Linked DNA regions of Homo sapiens: all the other regions are linked to region 1. Evidence: promoter capture Hi-C in 16 types of primary human blood cells and fetal thymus (Javierre and others, 2016). All regions are on one chromosome and are shown on one strand. Each heading gives the region's core, a stretch centred on a gene start or on the middle of the fragment in contact. The rest is flanking DNA. Distances are from core to core; before and after follow the strand shown.

Evidence for each region. The method cuts DNA at HindIII sites, captures the fragments that hold promoters and counts their contacts. A CHiCAGO score of 5 or more calls a contact.
Region 2: a fragment that was not itself captured here is called in contact with the fragment with the promoter of GRSF1 in region 1 in 7 of 17 cell types (total B cells, monocytes, activated CD4 T cells and 4 more); the score reaches 9.1 in total B cells.
Region 3: a contact is called between a fragment that was not itself captured here and the fragment with the promoter of GRSF1 in region 1, in 2 of 17 cell types (fetal thymus and erythroblasts). The highest score is 6.8, in fetal thymus.

What each region holds. Positions count from the first base shown.
Region 1 is chr4:70,837,433-70,841,476 of GRCh38, forward strand. It overlaps GRSF1 (G-rich RNA sequence binding factor 1), which reads right to left and starts at 2,458. Exons shown (of 10, transcript NM_002092.4): 1 at 2,039-2,458. The coding sequence starts at 2,395. It overlaps LOC124900710 (a long non-coding RNA gene), which reads left to right and starts at 1,560. Exons shown (of 3, transcript XR_007058131.1): 1 at 1,560-1,713. RefSeq lists enhancers at 1,161-1,815, 1,816-2,469 and silencers at 1,866-2,415, 2,476-2,725. The HindIII fragment of the contact is 9,073 bases long and covers 1,001-4,044 here.
Region 2 is chr4:70,643,687-70,647,688 of GRCh38, forward strand. It overlaps ENAM (enamelin), which reads left to right. Exons shown (of 9, transcript NM_031889.3): 9 at 1-3,138. The coding sequence ends at 1,169. Among named protein-coding and RNA genes, the nearest start is that of ENAM, 17 kb to the left of the region's middle. The HindIII fragment of the contact is 5,025 bases long and covers 1-3,907 here.
Region 3 is chr4:70,625,630-70,629,910 of GRCh38, forward strand. ENAM (enamelin) reads left to right here and starts at 3,115. Exons shown (of 9, transcript NM_031889.3): 1 at 3,115-3,335; 2 at 3,812-3,925. The coding sequence starts at 3,872. The HindIII fragment of the contact is 706 bases long and covers 2,388-3,093 here.

The DNA.
Region 1 (4,044 bases), core at 1,208-3,707:
GTGTGCCCGTAATCCCAGCTACTCGGGAGGCTGAGGCAGGATAATCGCCTGAACCCGGGAGGTAGAGGTTTCAGTGAGCTGAGATCTCGGCATTTCACTCCAGCATGGGCAACAGAGCAAGACTCCGTCTCAAAAAAAAAAAAAAAAAAAGACTTGCACTCTACCGGACTAAGGACAGAGATATCTTTCTACTATCTGTCATTTTCTTTTCTTTTCTTTTTTCTTGAGACGGAGTTTCGCTCTTGTCGCCCAGACTAGAGTATAATGGCACAATCTCGGCTCACTGCAACCTCCCCGGGTTCAAAGGATTCTCCTGCCTCAGCCTCCCGGGTAGCTGGGATTACAGGCGCCCGCCACCCCGCCCGGCTAATTTTTTTGCATTTTTTTAGTAGACACGGAGTTTCACCATGTTGGTTAGCCTGCTATCGAACTCCTGACCTCAGGTGATCCACCCGCCGCAGCCTCCCAAAGTGCCGCGCCCAGCCCTATCTATAATTTTCATTAAGGCTTAATGTTAGGCCGGGCGCGGTGGCTCACGCCTGTAATCCCAGCACTTTGGGAGGCAGAGGCGGGCGGATCACGAGGTCAGGAGATCGAGACCACGGTGAAACCCCGTCTCTACTAAAAATACAAAAAATTAGCTGGGCGCAGTGGCGGGCGCCTGTAGTCCCAGCTACTCGGGAGGCTGAAGCAGGAGAATGGCGTGAACCCGGAAGGCGGAGCTTGCAGTGAGCCGAGATCATTCCACTGCACTCCAGCCTGGGCGACAGAGCGAGACTCGGTCTCCAAAAAAAAAAAAAAAAAAAGGCTTAATGTTTAGTTTTAAGGAATAAATGTAAGCAGTGTCTAACACATAGTAGATGCTCTACAGATATCACCGCAGTCAATTTCATAGAAAAAAAAAGAGAGAAGCTAGCTCACAAAGGTTTACTGGAGATGGTTTTGTTGTGGTTTTTGTAGACAACTTTCCCCATTTTTCCATAATTCCATAAGCATCACAAGCTTTTACAGAAAAAGGCAGCGTAAAGTATTGGGCCAGGATTCAAATCAATTAGCTCAGCCACTGGCAGACAGCAGCCATGCTGATTAGCCTCCCAGTCTCCCTAAGTTAAAGGAGAAGCACAAATTGAATTAAGATAAATATGACCTAAGGAATCAGGGGCTGGGTAGTTAAAAAGTGTGCAGACACTTCCCAGATGCCACGTACCAAGAAGAGAAAGGTTCATCTACAAAGCACAAAATATTTGCAATCTAACTACACACCGACTTTTCTAAAAAAATAAAGAAAAAATGGAAAGGAAAACATTGCAAATTCATTCCTGGGACCCCAAGTTGTGTCCTCAACCCTCAACGCTCCCTCCCATTCACCCCCTCCCCCCAACAGCTAAATCTCCAAACTGCTTTCCCAGACGAGGCGACACACAGTCCTTAAAGACCTTCTGTATGAGTGGAGTTGCAGAGGTGACCTTCAGTAAACCGGGACAGCTCGTCTTTCCCTGGGGACAGGAGAGGGAACGGCGCGATGGGGACAGGCTCCTTCCCTACAAGCCAGCCCACGCAACTGTGTGCGCGCACCTTCCCAGCAGCGGCCGACCGAGAGGCGCCGAGGGCCGCCCAGGCCTAGCGCTCGGGCTGCACGGAAACTCCCAACCCTCCGGCGGGCTCGGGCCTCGCAACTTCACAACCAGCCGGCGGAAAGCAAGAAGATGCGAGGTGGGGGCGTCAGCAGCCTCACGAAACCTACCATGGGCCAGGCGGGGAACAAGGCCTCAACATTCACCCCAGCCACACTTACACTGCCCAACCGACCAGAGACTCGAGGCGAGAACAAAACAAGCAGAAGACCCGACGCCTGGGAGAGCTTCCCTTGTTCCAGGGCCCAATAGGAGCACAGGGTGGACGGGGGCGGGTGTGCGGCGAGTGTCGCGGATCCCCGGGCGTGCCCGCGAGGCGCACACGGAGGGACGGAGGGGCGCGGGGGCGCGTGCACGCGGCCCGGGAGGGATCTCGCGCCAGGTCCCTCACGGCGCCCACGTACCTGGCTGTAGCTGCGCGTCGGGACGGCGGCCGCCGCCGCCAGCGACTGCGGCAGCAGAGAGGCACGGAGGGCAGAGTAGGACGCGGCGGCCGCGGCCGCGGCAGAGGTGGCCACAGCGGGAGGCCCCGCCAGCCTCCCGGGAGGCACAGGCCCGGTCTGGAGGCCACGCGTCTGGGAGGCAGCGGCCGCGGCGGCCCCGAGCAGCAGCAGCAGGCGGCGGCGGCCCGAGACGCCCGACGGGATAGAGCCAGCGGCGGAGTAGAAGGGCAGGCAGGCGGCGCCGGTGCGCCGGCAGCTGCTGCAGTTACAGCCGCAGCCCCGGAGCAGCGCCCCGAGTACCCAGCGCGTGCCGGCCATGGACTCCGGAGGCGGCGCAGGGCCTGAAGGCAGCTGCTCCAGCAGCGATGGTGGAACGGAAGTGGAATCCAGGGCCGGTTGGGGGTGGGGTGTGCCTGGCACATGCGCCGCGGGCACTGGGTGGGGGGCCTCCGAGAGTCGGAAGGAGGTGGAGGAGAGCGCGACGCTCCGCCCAGTCTCCGCCCTTGGGCGGGGCTGCCCATGGTTTGGGCGGGGCTGCCCATGGTTTGGGCGGGGCTGCCCATGGTTTGGGCGGGGCTGCCCATGGTTTGGGCGGGGCTGCCCATGGTTTGGGCGGGGCTGCCCATGGTTTGGGCGGGGCTGCCCATGGTTTGGGCGGGGCTGCCCATGGTTTGGGCGGGGCTGCCCATGGTTTGGGCGGGGCTGCCCATGGTTTGGGCGGGGCTGCCCATGGTTTGGGCGGGGCCCGGGGAAGTGGGTGCAATCGAACTGCTCTTTTTTCAGGCGGTGGAAACTGAGGCCCAAAGTAAGTGAGGCTAGGGGCCTGGCGCAGTGACTCATTCGTAGTGACTCATTCTTGTAATCCTAGCACTTTGGCAGGCAGAGGCGGGTGGACTGCCTGAGGTCAGGAGTTCGAGACCAACCTAGGCAACACGGTGAAATCCCGTCTCTACTAAAATACAAAAAATTAGGTCGGACGCGGTGGCTCCCGCCTGTAATCCCAGCACTTTAGTAGGCCGAGGTAGGGCGGATCACCTGAGGTCAGCAGTTCAAGACCAGCCTGGCCAACATGGTGAAACTGTGTCTCTACTAAAAACACAAAAATTAGCCGGGTGTGGTGACGGGTGCCCGTAATCCCAGCTACTCAGGAGGCTGAGGCAGGAGAATCGCTTGAACCCAGGAGGCGGAGGTTGCAGTGAGCCAAGATCGTGCCACCGCACTGCAGCCTGGGCGACAGAGTGAGACGCCATCTCCAAACAAACAAACAAAAAAATTAGGTTAGGGCCATCCTGCTCTGGGTAGGGCCGAGAGCTGTAGCACAAGTCTGTGCTGCCCTGCGCTGTGCCACCGAAACCCGTGGTGTGAGTGGCTAAAGAACCCTTTCTGAAAGGAATTGTGATACCTTGGTTATAAAAAAATCGTTGGGATAATATCAGAGATTTGGTACCCCCCGAATTTGAGGTATGTGAGGAAGGAGAACTTCGTTGTTTTAAAATGAAATATAGGCCTGGCGTGGTGGCTCATGCCTATAATCCCAGCGCTTTGGGAGGCTGAAGTGAGAGGATCACTGGAGCCCAAGAGTTCCAGACCAGCCTGGGCAACATAGGGAGACCCCGTCTATACAAAAAATAAATAAAGCTGGGTGTGATGGCGTGGGCCTGTAGTCCCAGCTACTTGGGAGGCCGATTGCTTCAGCCCAGAAGGTAGAGGCTGTGGTAAGCTATGATTGCCACCACTGAACTCCAGCCTGGGTGACAGAGTGAAACCCTGTCTCTAAAAAAATAAAAGAAAACATATATATTTATTATGTACTGATAATACATAACAAAGGTGAACCCTCCCCTAATGAAACTGTATTCACAAGTGAACACACAGAGATTTGCACACACATACACAAAGACTGGTTGTGCAGCTTTTCTCCTCCTGAGCCAGGACTTGTCAAAGACAAGCAAAAGGAAGTTGTTAGA
Region 2 (4,002 bases), core at 145-2,644, 190 kb before region 1:
CAGAAGAAAGCACTCTATTTCCTTCACGGAATTCCTGGGACCACAGGATACAAGCCCAAGGGCAGAGAGAAAGAAGGCCGTATTTTAACAGAAATATCTGGGATCAGGCAACACATTTACAAAAAGCCCCAGCTAGGCCACCAGACCAGAAAGGTAACCAGCCCTATTACAGTAACACCCCAGCTGGGCTTCAGAAAAATCCAATATGGCATGAAGGTGAGAATTTGAACTATGGCATGCAAATAACTAGGATGAATTCTCCAGAGAGAGAACATTCATCTTTCCCTAACTTCATCCCACCAAGTTACCCATCAGGTCAAAAAGAAGCACATTTATTTCACCTAAGCCAGAGAGGCTCTTGCTGTGCTGGTAGCTCCACAGGGCCCAAGGACAATCCACTAGCTCTACAAGACTACACTCCATCCTATGGTCTTGCACCTGGGGAGAACCAAGACACCAGTCCTCTGTATACAGACGGTAGTCATACCAAGCAGACAAGAGATATCATCTCCCCAACAAGCATCCTACCAGGCCAAAGAAACAGCTCAGAGAAGAGGGAAAGCCAAAACCCTTTTAGAGATGATGTGTCCACGCTGAGGAGGAACACACCATGTTCTATAAAGAATCAACTGGGCCAAAAGGAAATTATGCCCTTTCCTGAAGCCAGTTCCCTTCAATCAAAGAATACACCTTGTCTCAAAAATGATCTTGGAGGAGATGGGAACAACATTCTGGAACAAGTTTTTGAAGACAACCAGCTCAATGAAAGAACTGTTGACCTTACTCCTGAGCAGCTTGTTATTGGTACACCTGATGAAGGCTCCAATCCAGAAGGCATCCAAAGTCAAGTCCAAGAAAATGAGAGTGAGAGGCAACAGCAAAGACCATCTAACATTCTGCATTTGCCATGCTTTGGCTCCAAATTAGCAAAGCATCACTCTTCCACCACCGGAACTCCATCTAGCGATGGAAGGCAAAGCCCATTTGATGGGGATTCAATTACGCCTACTGAAAATCCTAACACATTGGTTGAGTTAGCTACTGAGGAACAATTTAAGAGTATAAATGTAGACCCACTTGATGCAGATGAACACAGTCCATTTGAATTCCTTCAAAGAGGGACCAATGTACAGGACCAGGTACAAGACTGCTTACTACTTCAGGCCTAGGGGTTATCCAACCAAGCATTCTTGGGGAAAGAGAAATCACTGACATTCTATACCAATGGTTCCCAAAATTTTTTCCCCAAGACTTAATTAAGTGTCTGACTGTCTTGGTGATCCTTAAGTTTTCTCCCCTCTCAGCAATAGGAGTAGCGACCCAGGTGGAGCTGAGATTAGGCCTCTGGGGATCACCAGATCTAGCACTTTCACAGATTAGTGCAGACCTTAAAAAAGCAAGAAGGCCATGACCATCCCTGCCTCGAAACTTGCAAGTCACTTGTCTGAGTTAGTTTCCTTTTGCTTGATGACTTCTTTTGCTCTCAAAGTTCCATACTTGCAAAATTGGTTTTTCAAGACTGAAAGGCAGATTAACTTTCCATTCTACTTATGGAGATCCACACATCAGTATAGTCCTGATGCACTGTACGTTTTTTGCTTGTGTTGATCTTGTCAGGTTTTTTTCCTACTCAATATTCTCTTCAAGCATTTTTTTTCTTCCACTGCCACTCTCTTTACCTTTATCATTTCTTTTTCTTAGCTTTCTTCCTTCTTTTCTCTCTCCCTCAACCATTCTGTATTTAGCTTTCTAATCCTCATCTTTTTCTCTCTGTATATCACTTCTTACATATTAAATTAGCTATTTTAACCATTTCTAGTCTCTTCTTTATGTCTACCTCCTCCATTATGTCTTCGTCTCTTCCAACCTATCTGTTCTGTCTCCCAATGTACCACTTATCAACTAATCCCTCTCCTCTCTGATTCCTTTCTTCCCTTCAATTTATCTTTTTCCCTGTTACACCATTTTCATCTTAAGACTGCATGTCACTCTCTTCCTTTTTGTATCCACTCTCCAAATCGTACCCTAAATTTTTCTTGACCCAGCTTAACCATCATTACAGAATATATTTTGGAAATGGTAGACACTGATAGCTACTTTGTTTTTAGTTATCTTAGGGTCTCTACCAAGTAGACACAGTTCAGTTAGAGAGACGTATTTAAGGAGAAGGGAAGGCAGGATACCCAGAACTAGCAGCCTAGGGAAAAGGCTTAGGAAGATGGAGAATGAGGAACTGAAGAAACTGCCGCTCTGAGACTGCACATCCAGGAAAAAAGACTAGGACTTGCCACACACTGCCAATTCATAATCCGCAGGATCTGTAGAAGACATTTTGGGAAACACTGTCTTAAATAAAAACTCAATGTTTAGTTGTTTTTTTTTTTTTTTACTAGTTCAGCATAAGGGATTCTACCAGTATGTGCTACTACTAACATTCTTCATGTCCATGCAGAATTACTTACAGACACTCTTTCTTGGTATCTTGAATAAATTGTGTAAATTATTTTGAAAAGTGGATATTTCTATATGCCTTGCTTATAATACATCAGGGATTATTATTCTTATTAATAACATGTTGGCCTATTATCTGGATGTCCCTTGCCTAGAGCAGGAAAAAAGTCTCAGAATTACCTAAAAACATACTTTATAACTTTAAGAGATTTCTTAGGATACATCTTCAGGGGCAGATTTCATAACAACATCTCAAAAATTTGGGGAAACACAACGTTGAAAACTTCCTAAGAAAAGGAATCTTGCCCTTGAATCTTCTGAAGTACCTAGCACAGTGTCTTCAACATAGAAGGTACCCAATAAATATATATCAATTCATTTTTTAATGACTTTCAACACTCCCATGAAAACACCGTAGTCTGCTTTTCCTGAAAGGTGACTGTCTAGGATGCTGAATGAGCCACCACTCCGTAGCTTTATATATTCAGCAACATTTCCATCATAGAATTTCAGCGTTAGAAGGGATCTTAGAGGTAGATTATCCAGGCCATCCCCTACTGCTTACATTCCCCTCCCCCTGGCCAGTTTTATATTTTAATCACACATTGAAAAATTCATTAACTTATTCTGTATAAAACTGTCTTTTAAGAATTATCCTTTCAAAATAAAAATGTTATTGTTTCACTAGTTTATTTTTCCAAATGATTTTTTTTGAAATCTCAATATGAGTACTTTCATTACAAGATACTCACTTCACATTTCACCAAAATGCATGGGTTCACATAATTGTTTTGGCAGATATGTTGACATATCTGAATTTATAAGACACTGCTACTTAAACTACCATCTGAGATCGCTGCAATGTAAAATGTAAAAAGTACAGTGTGACACTTCCAAACTGTCTTGAGCATAAGTAAATATTTTTTCTAAAAATGTATAGTGTGACCAAAGGAACACATATTTTGAATTTGAAAACACACAGTGAAAAGAAGGGAAAATGTCTCTCCAGAAAATAACTGTTTTCTTTTTTTTTTTTTTTTTTTTTTGGTTTTTGTTTTGAGACAGAGTCTTGCCCTATTGCCCACACTGGAGTGCAGTGGCACCATCTCAGCTCACTGCAACCTCCACCTCCCAAGTTGAAACAATTCTCGTGCCTCAGCCTCCCAAGCAGCTGAGATTACAAATGTGTGCCACCAGGCATGGCTAATTCTTGCATTTTTAATAGAGACAGGGTTTCACCATGTTGGTCAGGCTGGTCTCGAACTCCTGACCTCAAGTGATCCATCCACCTCCGCCTCCCAAAGTGCTGGGATTATAGGCGTGAGCACTGTGGCCGGCCCAGAAAACTCTTGATGTCATCAGCACAGGTATGCATTTGCAAACCTGGATACCAGATATGAGTTCCTTACAGTAAAGAAATCAATTATTCTGTATGCTCTTGCTAAGTTATTGATAAAGCTTTTAAAGTCTGCTCTAAAGTTAAGGTGCACGCGGTGGATATCGGAGGCTCTAAAAGTAACCCTCTTGTCTTAGCATCTGAACCCTACCGCT
Region 3 (4,281 bases), core at 1,491-3,990, 210 kb before region 1:
GAACTGAGGTTTAAAGAGGTTAAGTCATTTGACCAAAATTCTAAAACAAGTAAGTTGTAGAAATCAGAATTTGAACCCACCACTGAGTTCTAGCTCAGAAAATTTGCTATCGTAATATTCTGTGCAGGATGGGTGGGCACCCAAGTCAGGGCTTGCATGAAGAGAAAGCTCAGAAAATGTTTATGGAATAAAGCATTATCAGTCCTTTAATTTGTGAGGAATTAAACTGCGCCTCCTCTTCTCTTCTGATAGAAAGATCTCTCGCATTTACAGCCTGAGAACAGGCTATAGGAATGAATGGTTTCAGAAAGAATTCAAGGTTGTGGATGCTTAGACACTATTTGGCACCAGTAATGGATCCCTAAGACACTACTTTGTCTCAGGCGCTTCATTCAGTGATCCTGCAGTGTTGGAGTGTTCTGTTAATACTAATCCACAGAACTTTACCTTCATAGTTGTACTTGGAGGATCTATTTGCTCTGAGAACTATGAGAACTATGGCTGAATTTATTGTTCTTAAATCCTTAGTAAATCATTATAAGGTGTAATGTGGAACAATGAAGTACCTTTGTGTATTGATCAGTCAGTCACTGATAGTCGGCTACTAGGAGCCAGGCATTTCACTTTTTTTTTTTGAGACAGGGTCTCTCTCTGCCTCACCCAGGCTGGAGGGCAGCGGTGCGATCATAGCTCACTGCAACCTTGACCTCCTGGGCTCCTTGAGGAGCCCTCTTGTCCTCCCATCTCAGCCTCCCGAGTAGCTGGGACTACAGGCACACACCACTGTGGCTGGTTAATATATTTTTTTGTAGAGATGGAGTCCCACTTTGTGGCCCAAGCTATATTTATTACTTCATTCATTTCTTAGAGGAAACTTATGAGGAAGGTAATATTGCCCTCATTTTACTGAACAGGAAATTGAACAGCTGGATAATTTGTGGAAGGTTTAAACTTAGATCTGGCAATTTCAAAACCCAGCCTCTTTCCCTTACATCTAGAGTATGAAATCAAAAGACTTTTCTGCTCCTGCTGGCTTAAAATCTAGAGCAATGAGGGGACCTTAAAGAGTGGAGGCAAAGGAAGAAGTTCACAGGCCCCCTGGAGAATATGGGTTCTTTTTCAGGGGGAGAAAAAAATGGTACATTTACACACAAATGCACAAATTCTTATATGCAATTTCTTAGGTTTCAGCTCCCAGGTTAACACATCTTATTTTAAGACTGAGAAGGGTAATGTAGAGAAAAAAATCAAAGAGATACATTAAAAAAAAAAATTTAAGCCAAATCATAAACATGTTTCACAAACAGTTGTAATTGCCTGAAGGGAAAAATAATTTACAAAATAAATAGAGATAAAGTAAAGGGGGAAAAACTCATAAAGGACTGATTTCAAAACATTTTATAGGCTGGACACAGTGGCTCATGCCTGTAATCCCAGCTACATTAGAGGCTGAGGCAGGAGAATCACTTGAACCCAGGAGACAGAGGTTTCAGTGAGCCAAGATCGCGCCACTGCACCCCAGCCTGGGTGACAGAGCCAGACTCTGTCTCAAAAAAAAAAAAAAATTATAAAGTTTGAGCTTTTTTTTTTCCTTTAAATGAAAGGAAATTTGGTAATTCTCCCAATCCAATCCAACAGTACTAAGAATTCACTCATTCAATAGCTTGGCTGGATTTTAGAAACATGAATTATTTCATGACAACTAACCACCCTTGTGGCCAAGAGAACAAGGGTAAATAGAGGAAAGTGATCAAAAGTGAGGTTTAGTGGCAACTCCCAACAACCTATATGGGTAAGGCCAAAATCAAAAATTACCCTCTACATGAATGGGCACAGGATAGGCCAGGTCATCCAGCATCAGAACTCCCATTTCACTTCCAAGAACACACTGTAGGTCACTGTCCCGTAAGTGTCCTACCATTTGCAAATTCATCTCAATGTGCACACAATATGATAAATACTACTCAGTTTCTACAAAATCAGACAAAGGCAAGCAGGTACTTGAAGCAGATTTAACTTTGCACATCTTGGATACACATAGAGTTAAAAGATAGTCCTAGCTTCATTTAAAGTCAAATATTCTAGCACATTTTTATTATTTGTGGCACGAAATATGTGGAGCAGAGAGGCACTGAGAAATACAATGCTATTTGGCCCAAAAGGAATGACACAGCACTTCTCTGTCCTTGGAAGAACAGCACCATGGGCAACCACTGGATTAACTTATATACACAATCATACCAAGTAGGAACAGGTTTTGCCATCAAGTTCATTCATTCTTGGTTTTTAAATCCCAACATTAAAATAAGCAAACATTGCCACAACAAATGTTTTCTCTTGTGAAGCCATAAGAGAACAGGAGAATCCAAGTTAAGCAAAGATAGCAAAGCTTGCTCTTGTCAATTAAAAGTGCAATTGGCCTATCTATTTGAAAGTGAAATCTTTATTATGGAAAGTCAGATTTCAGGAAAAAAATCCATAACATAACTGTTTCATTAAATTACTCAGGTCCTATTTTCATTAAGTTGTATTATCATAATAGCTGAGAGTTCATTTGCCATTGTACCCAACTCATCTAAAATTCTGAATCCCCAGTGACTGGATTATATTTGACTTCAAAAAGAACACTATGTCCTGCTAGCCTTATGTAATACAAAGTAAATCAAGTCACTGAGTTTTCACCCATGGATATAACATTCCAGTTCATTTTAATTACATATAAAATGTATATTAAGTAAATATATATATTAGCCTGCCTTTTGATGAAGGCAACTGACTTATGACAATAGCATACAGTTAATATTCGCCTTTGTTCCTGAAATATCTTTGTTATAAACATAGTTTCTATACTTTGAAAGCCAAATTCACCAAGGGAAGCATCTTCTAAATCTTACTGCTGTAAGCTCATTTTCCTGGACTGTTATTATACGTAATAAGAGACTTGACTTGACAGCTCCTATAATAACACATTCTAAATTTTAAATTCGATGTGTGTTTTTTACCTTAAACTCTTGTGATGACAAAACCATTTTCCTCAAAGCTGATTGGTTATGCAGGTCTACAACAGTGCTTAAATGGAACCTTGCTGTGCCAAGCTTTCTGACAAGGAGGAATCTTTTTATTTTGAGCCTTTTTGATACTGAACATGATATCTGAGTGAAGAATTTTTGTTTTATTATTAAGAAATAAATGTATCTTGCTTCTTGAGATCTCCCTGGCTTCAGCAATTTGTAGTTATTTCCACTATAGACCATTAAGAATATATTTCAAAGGCAAGCTAACAAAGTTCAAGTAAAAATTATTTTTTATATATTACAGCTTCTAATTGGCATTGGGTGAGTATTAGAGATTATCAACATAAATTACATATAGTGTCAAATAATGAATTTAATTCATAGATGTTGGTTAATTCTCCTTATTGCATTCCTTCTTGTTGGTTGTATAATCATTGTATGCAGACTAATCTTCTGATAAAACTTTAAACTCCTTGGTTTATTTGGTGTATTTGTTTTTCTTGTAAGTTTTTTCCAGCCTTCTTAGACCTCCTTTACTACTGTGACTTTGTACATTTCCCCATAGTGAAGTCTAGTTTTGTCAACATCGCCCTAGAAGTATCTCAAAATACAGTGCCTGTGTCATTTCCTCTCTGATTTAGCTTTCATCCTACTTTTAAAGCAACAGAAGATTAAACTTGATTTTGTGGCCCCCTAATACAGGTATGACTGGATAAAATAATTAACATGACATGTGCTGCCTTAGAACTGAAGCTTTGCTATTCATTTCATTTATTTGTTCCATTTCTATATTTTAGTTTCTTCTCAGGTTAAAGCTGTATTTTTCTTAAAGGCTTATAAAAATTTTGCTGAAAAAAATGTTGGTGCTTCGGTGCAGGCTTGGAACCTCTTTTCCTAAACTAGATAACTTGGTGAGTACTTTCATTTATTTTTGCCAATACATACAGGTTCTCAAACTAGATACTGTCAGAAATACACTTGAGAGGGCCAAACACTACTGAAATGTATCAGAAGACTCAAAGAGCATCTGCTTTCACAGATGGAATGGAAGAAGAACTTACACAGTCATTGTACTTTGTGGCAATCATTATGAGTGTTACTTTCAACTCAAAAAATAACTAATTATAGACTTTAATCACTAACTTTTAGAGATGGAAGGGATCTCAGTCATCCAACATAATATATTAATTTTACAAAAGAGAAAATGAGTTTTCTATTTGCAAATATAAAGGCTACATATATTATCAAGAATCACTGTGACAGCTAC